Regions from separate parts of the Homo sapiens genome. Here all the other regions are linked to region 3. The links are contacts of gene promoters, found by promoter capture Hi-C in human tissues and cell types (Jung and others, 2019). All regions are on one chromosome and are shown on one strand. The core of a region is centred on a gene start or on the middle of the fragment in contact, and the rest is flanking DNA. Distances in the headings are between cores, read along the strand shown. Region 1 overlaps SIL1 (SIL1 nucleotide exchange factor). Region 2 overlaps SIL1 (SIL1 nucleotide exchange factor). Region 3 holds the start of PAIP2 (poly(A) binding protein interacting protein 2). Region 4 overlaps SIL1 (SIL1 nucleotide exchange factor).

Region 1 (2,808 bases), core at 153-2,652, 360 kb after region 3:
GGCCCCTAGCGGTTTTTGTAAAGCAAGAGCCTAGAGCCCCCTTTGGGGGTGTTGCTGTGTGCTGAGGATTCTGGAAAGAACCTCACCCCTGTGACTAGGCCCTTTTGCCTGAGTTGTCCCCATTCCTGAGCCATTGTTCTGTCTTTTGCTCACCCGGGTGGCTGAAAAGACAGGATGACTACCTGAGCATTTCAGTCAGGGAGTTTGTTATTGATGATGCCGTTCACTTCTCAGGAGTGTTGCATCTAACACTGCCCCCATGCTCTTGTGGAAGACCGCATTCTCTCACTCTTTACAGCTCCTCTAGACAGAAATGATTCCAGATATCACTGTGTTCACCCCTGCCTCCTGGCAAGGAGCCCTCTCTCATAGCCCATCCCAACACTCATCTCCTCTGGCCCTAAAAATTCATACATTCATTAAAAAATATGAATTAGCCGGGTATGGTGACTTGTGCTGGTAGTCCCAGCTACTTAGGAGGCTGAGGTGGGAGGATCACTTGAGCCTGGGAGGCAGAGGCTGCAGTAAGTCGAGATCACGCCACTGCACTCCAGCCTGTGTGACAGAGTGAGACCCTGTCTCGAAAAAAAATTATTTAAAAAAGTCATGACTACCTATTATGTGCCAGGCATTTTGCTAGACTGAGGATGTGGTGGTGAACAAGACAGATAGGTGTTTCTTTTTACATGTCAGAAGTTGATTTTTTAGTCAGTCAGTATGTCATCAAAATTAAATACTCTTGGCTGGGTGCTGTGGCTCACGCCTGTAATCCCAGCACTTTGGGAGGCCAAGGCGGGCAGATCATGAGGTCAGGAGATCGAGACCAGCCTGGCCAACATGGTGAAACCCCGTCTCTACTAAAAATACAGAAATTAGCTGGGCGTGGTGGTGCACTCCTGTTATCCCAGCTACTTGAGAGGCTGAGGCAGGAGAATCGCTTGAACCCGGGAGGCAGAGGTTTCAGTGAGCCGAGATCATGCACTGCACTCCAGCCTGGCGACAGAGCGAGACTCCTTCTCAAAAAAAAAATAAAATAAAATTAAATTAAATTAAATACTCTTGTGCTTCAAAGGATACCATCAAGAAAGTGAAAAGGAAAACCACCGAATGGGAGAAAATTTTTACAAGTCATATATCTGGTAAGGGACTTTTTATCTAGAATACCTAAAGAATGTTTGCAACTCAGCAACAGAAAACAACGTAATTAAAAACTCCTACAATTCAACAATAAAAAGACAACCCAATTAAAAAATAGGCAAAGGATCTGAATGGACAGCTGTCCAGACAAGATAATGCAAATGTGCAGTAAGTACAGGAAATGATGCTCAACATCATTAACTCCCAGGAAAATGCAAACCCAACCACAATGAGAGAACACTGTATACTCAAAAAGATAGATAATAACAAGTGTTGACAAGGATGTGGAGAAATTGGGACCCTCATATACTGCTAGTGGAAATGTAAATTGATCCAACCATTTTGAAAAACACTACTAGTTCTTCAAATAGTTAAACATAGAGTTATCATGTGATCCAGCAATTCCAATGCTAGGTGTGTACCCAAGAGAAGTGAAACCATATTCCACACAAAAACTTGTACATGAATGTGCATAGCCTCAATATTCATAACAGCCAAAAAGTGGAAACAACCCAAGTATCTGTTGACTGAGAAATGGGTAAATATAATGTAGTATATCCATACAATGGAATATTTAGCAATAAAAAGAAATGAAGTACTGATACATGTTATGAATGGATGAAACTTTTAAAAAGTCAGAGTGAAAAAAGCTAGTCACAAAGCACCACATACTGGATGATTCCATCTCTGTGGAATGTCTGGAATATTCAAATCTGTAGGGCCTAGTGCTGAGGGAGTGGGGGTTGGGGAGAGTTGCGGGGGGCACTAGTAATAGGTATGGGGGGGCAATGAAAATGCCTTAAAATTGTGATATGTTGCACAACTCTGTGAATACACAAAAAGCTATTGAGTTGTACACTTTAAATGGGTGAATTGTGTGGTATGTGAATTTTACCTCAATAAAGCATTTTTAAGTCAGTAACGTGTTATGAAGAAAATAAAATAGGATGATATAAGGTTCTTTAGATGAGTTAGTTACAGAGACTTTTCCAAAGAGATGTCATTCTGGCCTCAACTCAAATATAGATTGAGTCAGCCATATGTACATTAGGCCAAGGGTTTTCCAGGCAGCAGGAATAGCCGTTGCAAGGGTCCTGAGGTAGGGACAAGCTTGGCCAGTTGAGGAAGCAGCCAGAAGGTGAGTGTGGCTGGAATGGAGTGAGCTAAAGAAAGACTAAGAAGAGGTGAGGTTGGCGAAGTTGGCAGTGCACCTAGAGACCTAGGTGAACTAAATTTGGATTTTATTCTAAGGGTAGCAGGAAGCCACTGGTGCCATTTAATTAAGGGAGTAACAAGATCTGATTTACATTTTAAAAATGATCCCCTGGCTTGGCTCAGTGGCTCACACCTGTAATCCCAGCACTTTGGGAGGCCGAGGGAGGTAGATTGCTTGAGTCCAAGAGTTTGAGGCTGCAGTGAGCTATGATTGCACCACTGTGCTCCAGCCTGGGTGACAGAGCAAGACCTAGTGTCAAAAAGAAAAAAAGGAGGAAAAAAAAAAGATTCCTCTGATTGCTTTGCGGGAGAGAAGGAACTCTTCATGGTTTCAGACTACAGCACTGCCTACCTTGTTATCTTAAATCTCTGATAGTAGGAAGCTCTTCCTGGTATCTAGTTCAAGTCACCTCCTCTCATCAGGATTTTGGGTGGTAGATCTGATGGCCATGATAG
Region 2 (2,894 bases), core at 51-2,550, 380 kb after region 3:
ATCATTGCCTTTTCTTTTGCTATTAAGAGATGGCTCATTCATAAACATTCCTACAGTTGTGTGGCAAACGCAAAATAGGCCCTGCGTGATTCCACTGGCTCTGATTGAGGAGATGATTTTTCACACAGTGAGATTTATCATGTTTATCAAGTTTATGACAGAACACAAGGAGGGTGAGGGGATGTGGAGGTTGGAGGGAGTGCAGATCTGAGTGAGGAAGGAAGCTCTTTCCTGAGCCTCAAAGGGCGGGTTGACAAGGTGTGTTGCCTATAAGCTTGGAGCAAGGATTGTGTGGGCCATTTCCTTGGATCCCCTCTTGCCCTGCAGGGTCTGGCCTCCTCCGCTCTCCCCCAGCCACCAGACATGGGGATAGTTATACCACCAACTGAGTATAGAAGACCTAAAATAACATCCTCTGTGTTCTCTAATAAAGTTGATAAATCTCAGTGTGTGAAAAATCTCCCGTATGTTTTAGCTTAAATTTTCTTCTGCTTAACCTTGTTACTCCTGCCTTGCCTCCCTCAGACTGCCTGAGACAATTACTCAGGGACATTCTTTGAATAATTAGAGGCTGCAGATAATTCTCTTTAGCCCGCTTTCTTCCATGTTCCCTACCCTGTGGTCTCCCTTTAGCCAGTTCTAATTAGCTGCTTTGATCCTTCCTCCCAATCTCTCCCTCTAGCTTGTTAATTACATTTCTCCCCCATGAATTCCTTCTGTACTGGCTTTGTCTATCCAGTCAGAGGAGCTGAGAATGGGAATCTAAGGCCACTCAGTGGGAGGTCTTCTTTGTCCCCCAACACAGATAGCTCCTCTCCCTTCTGAGAAGCCTGAAAACCCTGGCATTCTGTCTTAGCAGAAAAGTAAAAATAATAATTTTTGTTAAATGGTATATTATGATAAAACAGCTGTTATCCTAATGCTTGGCATTTGCCAGGAACTCTGGGTATGTTTATGTATATAAAATCACATTTCATCCCCGCAACAATCCCATGAGATAAATATTATTGTTATTAATCCCTGTTTTACAAATGCAGAAACTGAGGTACAGAGAGGCTTAGTAACTTACCTCAGTCACACAGCTGAAAACACTAGAATCTCGGACTTTCACCTAGGTCTCTCTGACTCCAGAGCAGCACTCAGTGTTTTGCTTCCTGGGTTTGGGCTTTTTGGTGAAGAGGAAAAAAAAAAAAATGGAAAAAGTCCAGGTCATTGGCTTTTAGCCCACCAAAAAACTAACCAACCAATCAACTCTGAGGTAATTGTCAACTCTTTACCCTCCGTGTAGAAGAGGCTTTCTCAATTGAAATTATAAAACTGGCACAGAAGCAAACTGGCGTGGTGCACGGGGTATCTGGGCAGTTGGAAATCTTCTAGAAAAAAAAAAGAAACCAATAAATTCTTCACTTGCTTTAATTCTTAATTCTCTTTTCTGACAGTTTTCTCTCTCAGGAGGTTAAGGAAGCAATAAGGAGAAGGGCCTCACTGAAATTATATTCTGAGCAACAAGAAGGATCTGTCTGGTAAAAAAAAAAAAAAAAAAAAAGTCTAGAGAACATCAGCAGAAAGTGACTGTGTTTGGAGAAGCTAAAAGGGGAAGGTAAAACTCTCTGCCTCTGAGTTTTAGGGAAAGTAAATTTCAGAGGGTCCAGGAAAAAGTAGATATGATGTCTGAACAGGAGCTTCAAAAGGAAAGATGACTTAGAGTTTGAAAAATGAAGTGTACTTAATAGAGTCACGAGTGATTACTGCAGGGAACAGGGAGCCACCTAAAGAGACCCACATGGCTTCAGGGGGCACAGTTCGAGCTGAGATTTTGTCTAGAGATGAAAAAGGGACCTGTAACCAAGAGCAAATAGAGAAGTGGATGCAACCTCCGAGAACAGTGTCAGGAGCACCAGATGGGTGAGACCTGGGAAACACTAAGAACAACAAAGGCGCCTGTGCAGCTACTGTTGAGAGTGAGAGGGATGGCAAGGAAGGCTTTAGGCCACCTGGTTCAATCAGGTGATTTAGCAGATGCCATAGAGGGCATCTCTGTCCTTACTGCTTATTCTGTTTGCCTCTGCCTTCTCTCTCAAGGAGAATGGCCTTCCTGCAGAAAGTAAAACAAACATAGAGTTAAGTGGAACTTGAGACCAGGAGTGTACAAAAAGTGTAAATGAACCACTGGCTTCTCCAAATTAGACAGGGTCTGAAAAATTAAATGCCAGACAGAAACTTAGGGACATCATCATCAAACTGTGTGCAGAAATCTTTATGGCATTATGGGGATTGGGAGAGGGGCAAGGAGACACAATGGGCAACTGTTCTGGTTTTCAAAATAACAGAGCAAGTTTTTGAGATGTGACTTAAGAGTATTTTTAAAGAAAAGAGGTCATTTCTTAGAGTTAGTGTGGGTTCCATAAAACCAGGTCTTGCTGGACTAGTTTAATGCTTAAGTCCTCCCTCCCCCATCCCTCCATATAGAAAAGTTTAACACATTCTACTTGATGAATTATTGAAAGTGGAGACACCCATGTAACCACCACCCAGATCCAGAAATGTAACATTATCAGTACCCCAGAAGACTGTCTCAAGTTCCTCCCAACTCTAATTTTCTTTTTCATAAGATTTGCCAGGCTGGCAGATTAGGCCGGTATAATAGACACAGAGGAAGTCTGCGTTTCAGGAAATCATTTGACAGAATCTCATAATAATCTAATAGATCAGATAGAGAAATGATAATAAAGACGTAGATTTGAGGCCGAGTGCCGTGGCTCACGCCTGTAATCCCAGCACTTGGGAGGTCAAGGCTGGCAGATCACTTGAGGCCAGGAGTTCGAGACCAGCCTGGCCAACATGGCAAAACCTTCTCTCCACTAAAAATACAAAAACAAAAACAAAAACAAAAC
Region 3 (2,700 bases), core at 137-2,636:
CAACTGACAAGTAGTATAAACAGACTAATTTTCCCCAAATATCCTGTCTTTCACTAACTGGAAACAGAATCACAAAAGCAAATAGTGGAGTCTCATTAAAAATTATTGTAGAGAACTTTTACTTATTGCAAACACAACCTACGCCAGAAGAAATTTCAAAAGCGACTTAATGAAAATATAAACCAACACCTGATCTAACTGTGCTAATGAAATCTGTGAAAAAACAATGCCACCACGTTTCAACATTAGCCAGCACACCCAACATGAACATCTACTTTCCGTTGAAATAAACGTCAAAGGCTGTCAGCTGCTACACCTTCCAAGGCAAATTGGAAGCCAAATTCTTTCTAGAGTTTGGGGTTTTTATGAGTTGATACGGGTGCCAAATCAGGGAAAAAAGAAACAAAAGGAAGCAGGTAAGACCCCTTTTAGGAGTCCCTAAAAAATATCACTGCTGGCTGCTGCAACAAATGTTTTGAAGACCTAAGTTCACCACAAGCCTTATTTATTTCTGGTGGCGATGGTGGGGAAGGAGGAGAGTAAGCACAGAAAATTATTAAAAGGTAAGAGGACCTTAAAGTTCATCTAACTCAACGCCCTCCTAGGGTAAGGGTTCCCAGTACCCCAAAGGTTCTTTTTTCCAGGGCATGAGCTGCAATACAACCAAAAATAAGGGGTAGCGATGGCGAAGAAACGGGAGAAAGACGATCTTCTGATCAGGCCCGTCGACGGTTGCAGCGTTCCCCCAAGACGCCAAGAGCCCGCCAGTCCCTCCGCCCCTCTCTCCCCAAACCCCAGCCTCGGCTGAGGCGCGCACGCGCAGCAAGTAGGGGCTGCGCGTGGCGACGCGCAGGCGTAAAGTGGGTAGAAACAATAAGCTTTGTTGCCGAGGCGGTGGGAGGGGGGCAGGGGAAAGGGTACCCGGCGGAGGGATAAAGGACCGGGAGAATGAGGAACAGGAGAAAGTGCTATCCCGGCAACCCTCGCGCCACTGAGGACCCGGATAGAGAGCTGCGAGATCCAAATCATTAATAATGACAATGAAAAAAAAGCGACGGCCATGTCTCGGAGAAGACAGAGACGAAGTCGGCCCAAGCTCATCCCTCAGACTTGGTGGAAAGAGGCAATGAACAACGGAGGCCGCAATGGACTCGGTGGCCAACCACCCAGGGAACCCTTTAGGCCCCTCTGCCGTCGCCGACTTGCTGTCCCTCGACCTCCGCACCCCTGTCGCCACTCTGCCCGAGAGGACCCCTCACCCAATGCACAGCAGCGGGGACGGCAGCCAACGAATCCTGTCGGCCTCCGCGGATCTCCACAGGCAGCGCCGCTCCCCCGCTCGACGTGCGCTTCGCCCGCCGCCTCCCTTCTCCAGTCCAAACAAACACCCCAGCCCGGAAGTGACTTCACTTCCGTCGCCGCCAACCCCGCCCTCTTGTTCTGTCAGCTCTGCCCTCCGAAGCCACTAGAGAGCGCGCGCGAGAACGCGCGACCCCGAAGTCTGTCTCCAAGGCTGCACACGTGTGCACGCGCAGCAGCCTTTCCAGCGCGCCCCTACGGCCGGCTGCCGGGTGTAGCAGGAACGCTGTCGCACGTTCTCTCTGGAAGGCAGGAATGGGGGCGTACCACTGTTCCCACACCCGCCCATCTTCCGAGAATGATGATATGCAATGAGTGAGGCAGCTGGGGACTGAAGAGCACCCTGACAAGATACACAGGCGTGGACTTTCACAGACATCACACACCCCCCCAAAAACGTAATATTTAGGTAATGACATAGCACACACATACCCATACACACCCCAAGAATGATACACAATGTCACACAAACAGCGACATGCACCGAGTCACGTCAAGATCCTGACACAGAAAAATAATAAACTAAGGGAAATCACAGAGGCGTACTAAATGATATGCAAACATCCGCACTCAGACATGTGCAGGCACAAAAACACACTTTTTGAAGCTGGATGCAAACGCAAAATACAAATACATGTGCAACTTCTTTGTGGCTAAAGGAGGAAATGCCCTGTCCACACAGGATAGAAAAGTGTGACCTCCGGGTTCAAGAATTTTGTAGTCCGTGATCCTGGGTGCACTGGCCCCATAGTTATTCTTACCCATGCTTCCTTCCTGTCATCGTTGACAAGCCCCAAGATATATTTCTAGTGACACTAAGCAATGTAAAGAAGAGAGTATGTTTTTGTTTTTTTGTTTTGTTTTGTTTTTTTGAGGCGGAGTCTGGCTCTCTTGCCCAGGCTGGAGTGCAGTGGCGCCATCTCGGCTCACTGCAACCTCCGCCTCCCGGGTTCAAGAGATTCTCCTGCCACAGCCTCCCAAGTAGCTGGGACTACAGGCGCACGCCAGCACACCCGGCCAATTTTTGTACTTTTAGTAGAGATAGGGGTTTCACCGTGTTGGCCAGGATGGTCTCGATCTCCTGACCTCGTGATCCACCCGCCTCCGCCTCTCAAAGTGCTAGGATTACAGGTGTGAGCCACCGCACCCGGCCGAGAGTATGTGTTTTACAAATCTGGATGTTCAAATGTGTAGATACTATCTTTGAAAAAGGGACACAAACTAATTTCTTCCCTTTGGAGAGGGCAAATGACCGACTAGGAAATGGGTGCAAATAACTATCCTTTTCTCCTGAAAAATTTGAATCTTTTAAAAACTATATGCTTGTAGTATTTACTAAGA
Region 4 (2,906 bases), core at 359-2,858, 270 kb after region 3:
ACTGTATTTTCTTCCAGTAGTTTCATGGTTTGGGGTCTTATATTTAAGTCTTCAATCTATTTTGATTTGATTTTGCATATGGTATATGACAAATATACCAAGGGTCTAATTTCATTCTTTTACATGTGGATATTCCATTTTGCCAATACCATTTATTGAAGAGACTGTCCTTTCCCCATTTTATCTTTGTGGCACCTTTGTCAAAAATCAATTGGCTGTAAATGCATGTATGGATTTATTTCTGGTTTTATATTCGCAATATACTTTTGATTCGTTGAATTCATCTCTATTTCGCAGGATGTGTTAGTACGTGTTTGAATAGTGTATGTTATTTATGACTGGTATTCTGAGTTATTTTTCATTTTAGAATGTATTAATATGTTTTAGGTATATAATTTATAATAGACCCCAATTATAACAGCATATTTTAAAGAAGCCCAAATGGACCCTTCCTATAATAAAAGATACCAAATGATTGGTTTGTTTTTTGCAGCTACCTCCCCTTTTTCTTTTTAAAATATATGCCACAGTTTTATACTTTTAATAGTTTTGAAGTAATTTATTTTGTGCCTAGAAAAGGAATTATGTATTTTTTCCATGAATGTGTCATGTTTTTAGCAACTTGTAATCCCAGAAAAATTAAATAAATAAAAATTTGCTTGCCAGGAGCGGTGGCTCATGACTGTAATCCCAGCACTTTGGGAGGCTGAGGCGGGGGGACCATGAGGTCAGGAGTTCAAGACCAGCCTGACCAAGATGGTGAAACCCCGTCTCTACTAAAAATACAAAAATTAGCCAGATTTGATGGTGGGTGCCTGCAATCCCAGCTACTTGAGAGGCTGAGGCAGAGAATCGCTTGAACCGGGAAGGTGGAGGTTGCAGTGAGCTGAGATCGCACCACTGCACTCCAGCCTGGGCGACAGAGTGAGACTCCGTCTCAAAAAAAAAAAAAAAAAAATGCTAATAATAAAAGGTATGAATGCTCACTATAAAAAAATCCTAATTATAGAAATGTATAATTTAGGAAGTACAAGTCCTTCTAAGTCCAGTTTCTTCACCAGAGATAACATATACTCCTTTAAGACTCTTTTTATTATAAAGTTAAACACAGATATAGAAAATTATACAAAATATGTAGCTTAATGAGTTATTACCAGGTGAAGTCACACCCAAGTCAGGAAATAGAACTTTGCCGAGCACTTCAGCAGGTCCCTCCAACTGTAATATTTCCCTCCTACCAAATGTAACCACTCTCCTGATTTTTACAATAATTGCTCCTTTGCATTTTCAAATAGTTTATGACTAAGTTTTGCACCCAAGACTATAGTGTTGCCCATTTAAGAAACGTTGTTATATCCTTTAAGTCTCTTTGAATCTACAGGTTACCTATCTATTCCCCACCCCCACCCCCTGCTTTTTTTTTTCTTCTTCTTCTTATAAATTGTCTGTTGAAGAGCTCAGGCCATTTCCCAGGCTAAATTTTGCTGATTTCATAAATGATGCAGTTCGGCATGTTTCTCCAACCTCTGTATTTCTTGCAAATTGTCAGCTGGATCCAGGGGCTCAATCGGACACAGGTTCCATTCCTTTGGGAAAACTATAGGCAGTTTTGTGCTCTTTCATTAGGAAGTGCTTAATGTCTGATTGATTCTCTTTTTGTGGGATTGCAAGAGGGTGATACTCAAATCTATCATTTCTTTTTTATTTTTAGCTGCACTACTTTTATAAAGAGGTATTTCCCCATATATATTATTTTGTTACTCAGTGGTAAAATTCATACAGGAAAGACAGGATAAATGTTTGGTTCTTTTTTCCTTATTTACCAGTTTTCAAGATAATGAGTTGATCCTCTGAAGATGACCAATTAAGATGTTTTTTTTCCCTTTACAAACTCACAGGTTCAAAGCATATTTTATGGGCTTTAATTCATTGTAATTATTACTTTTATTGAAGTTGAAATTGTTTGATTTTTGGTCAGTTGAAGGTTTTCAAATGAGTTCTTTTCATGTTACTCTAATAGTCTTTGATAGTTTTCTTGCTGTCTGGTTTGACAAGATATTCTAAGCTCGTCTTGTACATTTCCTTCCCAGGACTGGAATTAGCTGTTTCTCTAAGAAGTTTTAAGACTACATTCTGGCCATTAGGTCGCTCATTACTGCTGTGTTGGTCATTGTTTCTAGGCCTTTTCTGTTGACAAGAGATAGGAAATATATGTTATAATCCTCATACATTCAAGTGGGTACTGCCTATTCATATTCCGGCTGGCAGGGTTTTTATTTAATCTCTTCGATATTACATCTGCCTCTTTTTTTCCCACACCGAGAGTCCTGATTCTGGACACAGGGGATTATACAATTAGAATATGTAATAATTTTACTGATTTGATCTGTCTCATTTTGTACATGCAACAGTTTCAGAATGGCAGTAATACTATCCCTGATATGATTACTGAAAATAGTTTAAAACATTTTTTTGTGTGTGCTCTCATTGTTCTTAACCAGCTGTGTTGTATGTATATTCTCAGAGTAGCCATTATATACTTCCTTTTTAGCCCTTATTTAAGGCATTTATACAAATAACTATATATGTAATGTTTACCGCCGGTCTTACTTATTTTCATTGTCTGGGATGTATTTTCTAGTAAATTCTTCAGGAAGAGCCCATCGAAACAGTAATCTCTGTGTTTTTGTATGTTAACTTTGTCAGTGTTCTTTACATCCCAAAGCACTTTGGTAGGATATAAAATCCTTGGCTCACATTTTCTTTCTTTGAGTACTTCATCTTCTGCTGGCAGTAGGCTTTGCTGTTAAAAATGCTGATGACAATCTAATTTTCTTTATAAGTTACTTGCTGATTTTTGCTTATATGCCCAAGTGATCTTTCCTTTGCCTTTAAAATCCAATTAT

Evidence for each region. Contacts are between HindIII fragments. The study calls those that stand out against the background at their distance.
Region 1: a contact is called between a fragment that was not itself captured here and the fragment with the promoter of PAIP2 in region 3, in 4 of the 25 tissues and cell types used here (IMR-90 fibroblasts, aorta, dorsolateral prefrontal cortex and 1 more).
Region 2: a contact is called between a fragment that was not itself captured here and the fragment with the promoter of PAIP2 in region 3, in 2 of the 25 tissues and cell types used here (bladder and dorsolateral prefrontal cortex).
Region 4: a fragment that was not itself captured here is called in contact with the fragment with the promoter of PAIP2 in region 3 in 2 of the 25 tissues and cell types used here (dorsolateral prefrontal cortex and hippocampus).

What each region holds. Positions count from the first base shown.
Region 1 is chr5:138,977,296-138,980,103 of GRCh38, reverse strand. All of the region lies in intron 7 of SIL1 (SIL1 nucleotide exchange factor), which reads left to right. Among named protein-coding and RNA genes, the nearest start is that of LRRTM2, 100 kb to the right of the region's middle. The HindIII fragment of the contact is 4,436 bases long and covers 1-2,808 here.
Region 2 is chr5:138,960,605-138,963,498 of GRCh38, reverse strand. All of the region lies in intron 7 of SIL1 (SIL1 nucleotide exchange factor), which reads left to right. It overlaps LOC124901079 (a long non-coding RNA gene), which reads right to left. Exons shown (of 2, transcript XR_007058954.1): 1 at 1,278-2,894; 2 at 1-1,165. Among named protein-coding and RNA genes, the nearest start is that of LRRTM2, 87 kb to the right of the region's middle. The HindIII fragment of the contact is 4,395 bases long and covers 1-2,894 here.
Region 3 is chr5:139,340,540-139,343,239 of GRCh38, reverse strand. PAIP2 (poly(A) binding protein interacting protein 2) reads right to left here and starts at 1,386. Exons shown (of 4, transcript NM_016480.5): 1 at 1,260-1,386. The HindIII fragment of the contact is 8,924 bases long and covers 1-2,700 here.
Region 4 is chr5:139,069,719-139,072,624 of GRCh38, reverse strand. The region is part of intron 3 of SIL1 (SIL1 nucleotide exchange factor); the gene reads left to right. Among named protein-coding and RNA genes, the nearest start is that of SIL1, 130 kb to the left of the region's middle. The HindIII fragment of the contact is 3,786 bases long and covers 1-2,906 here.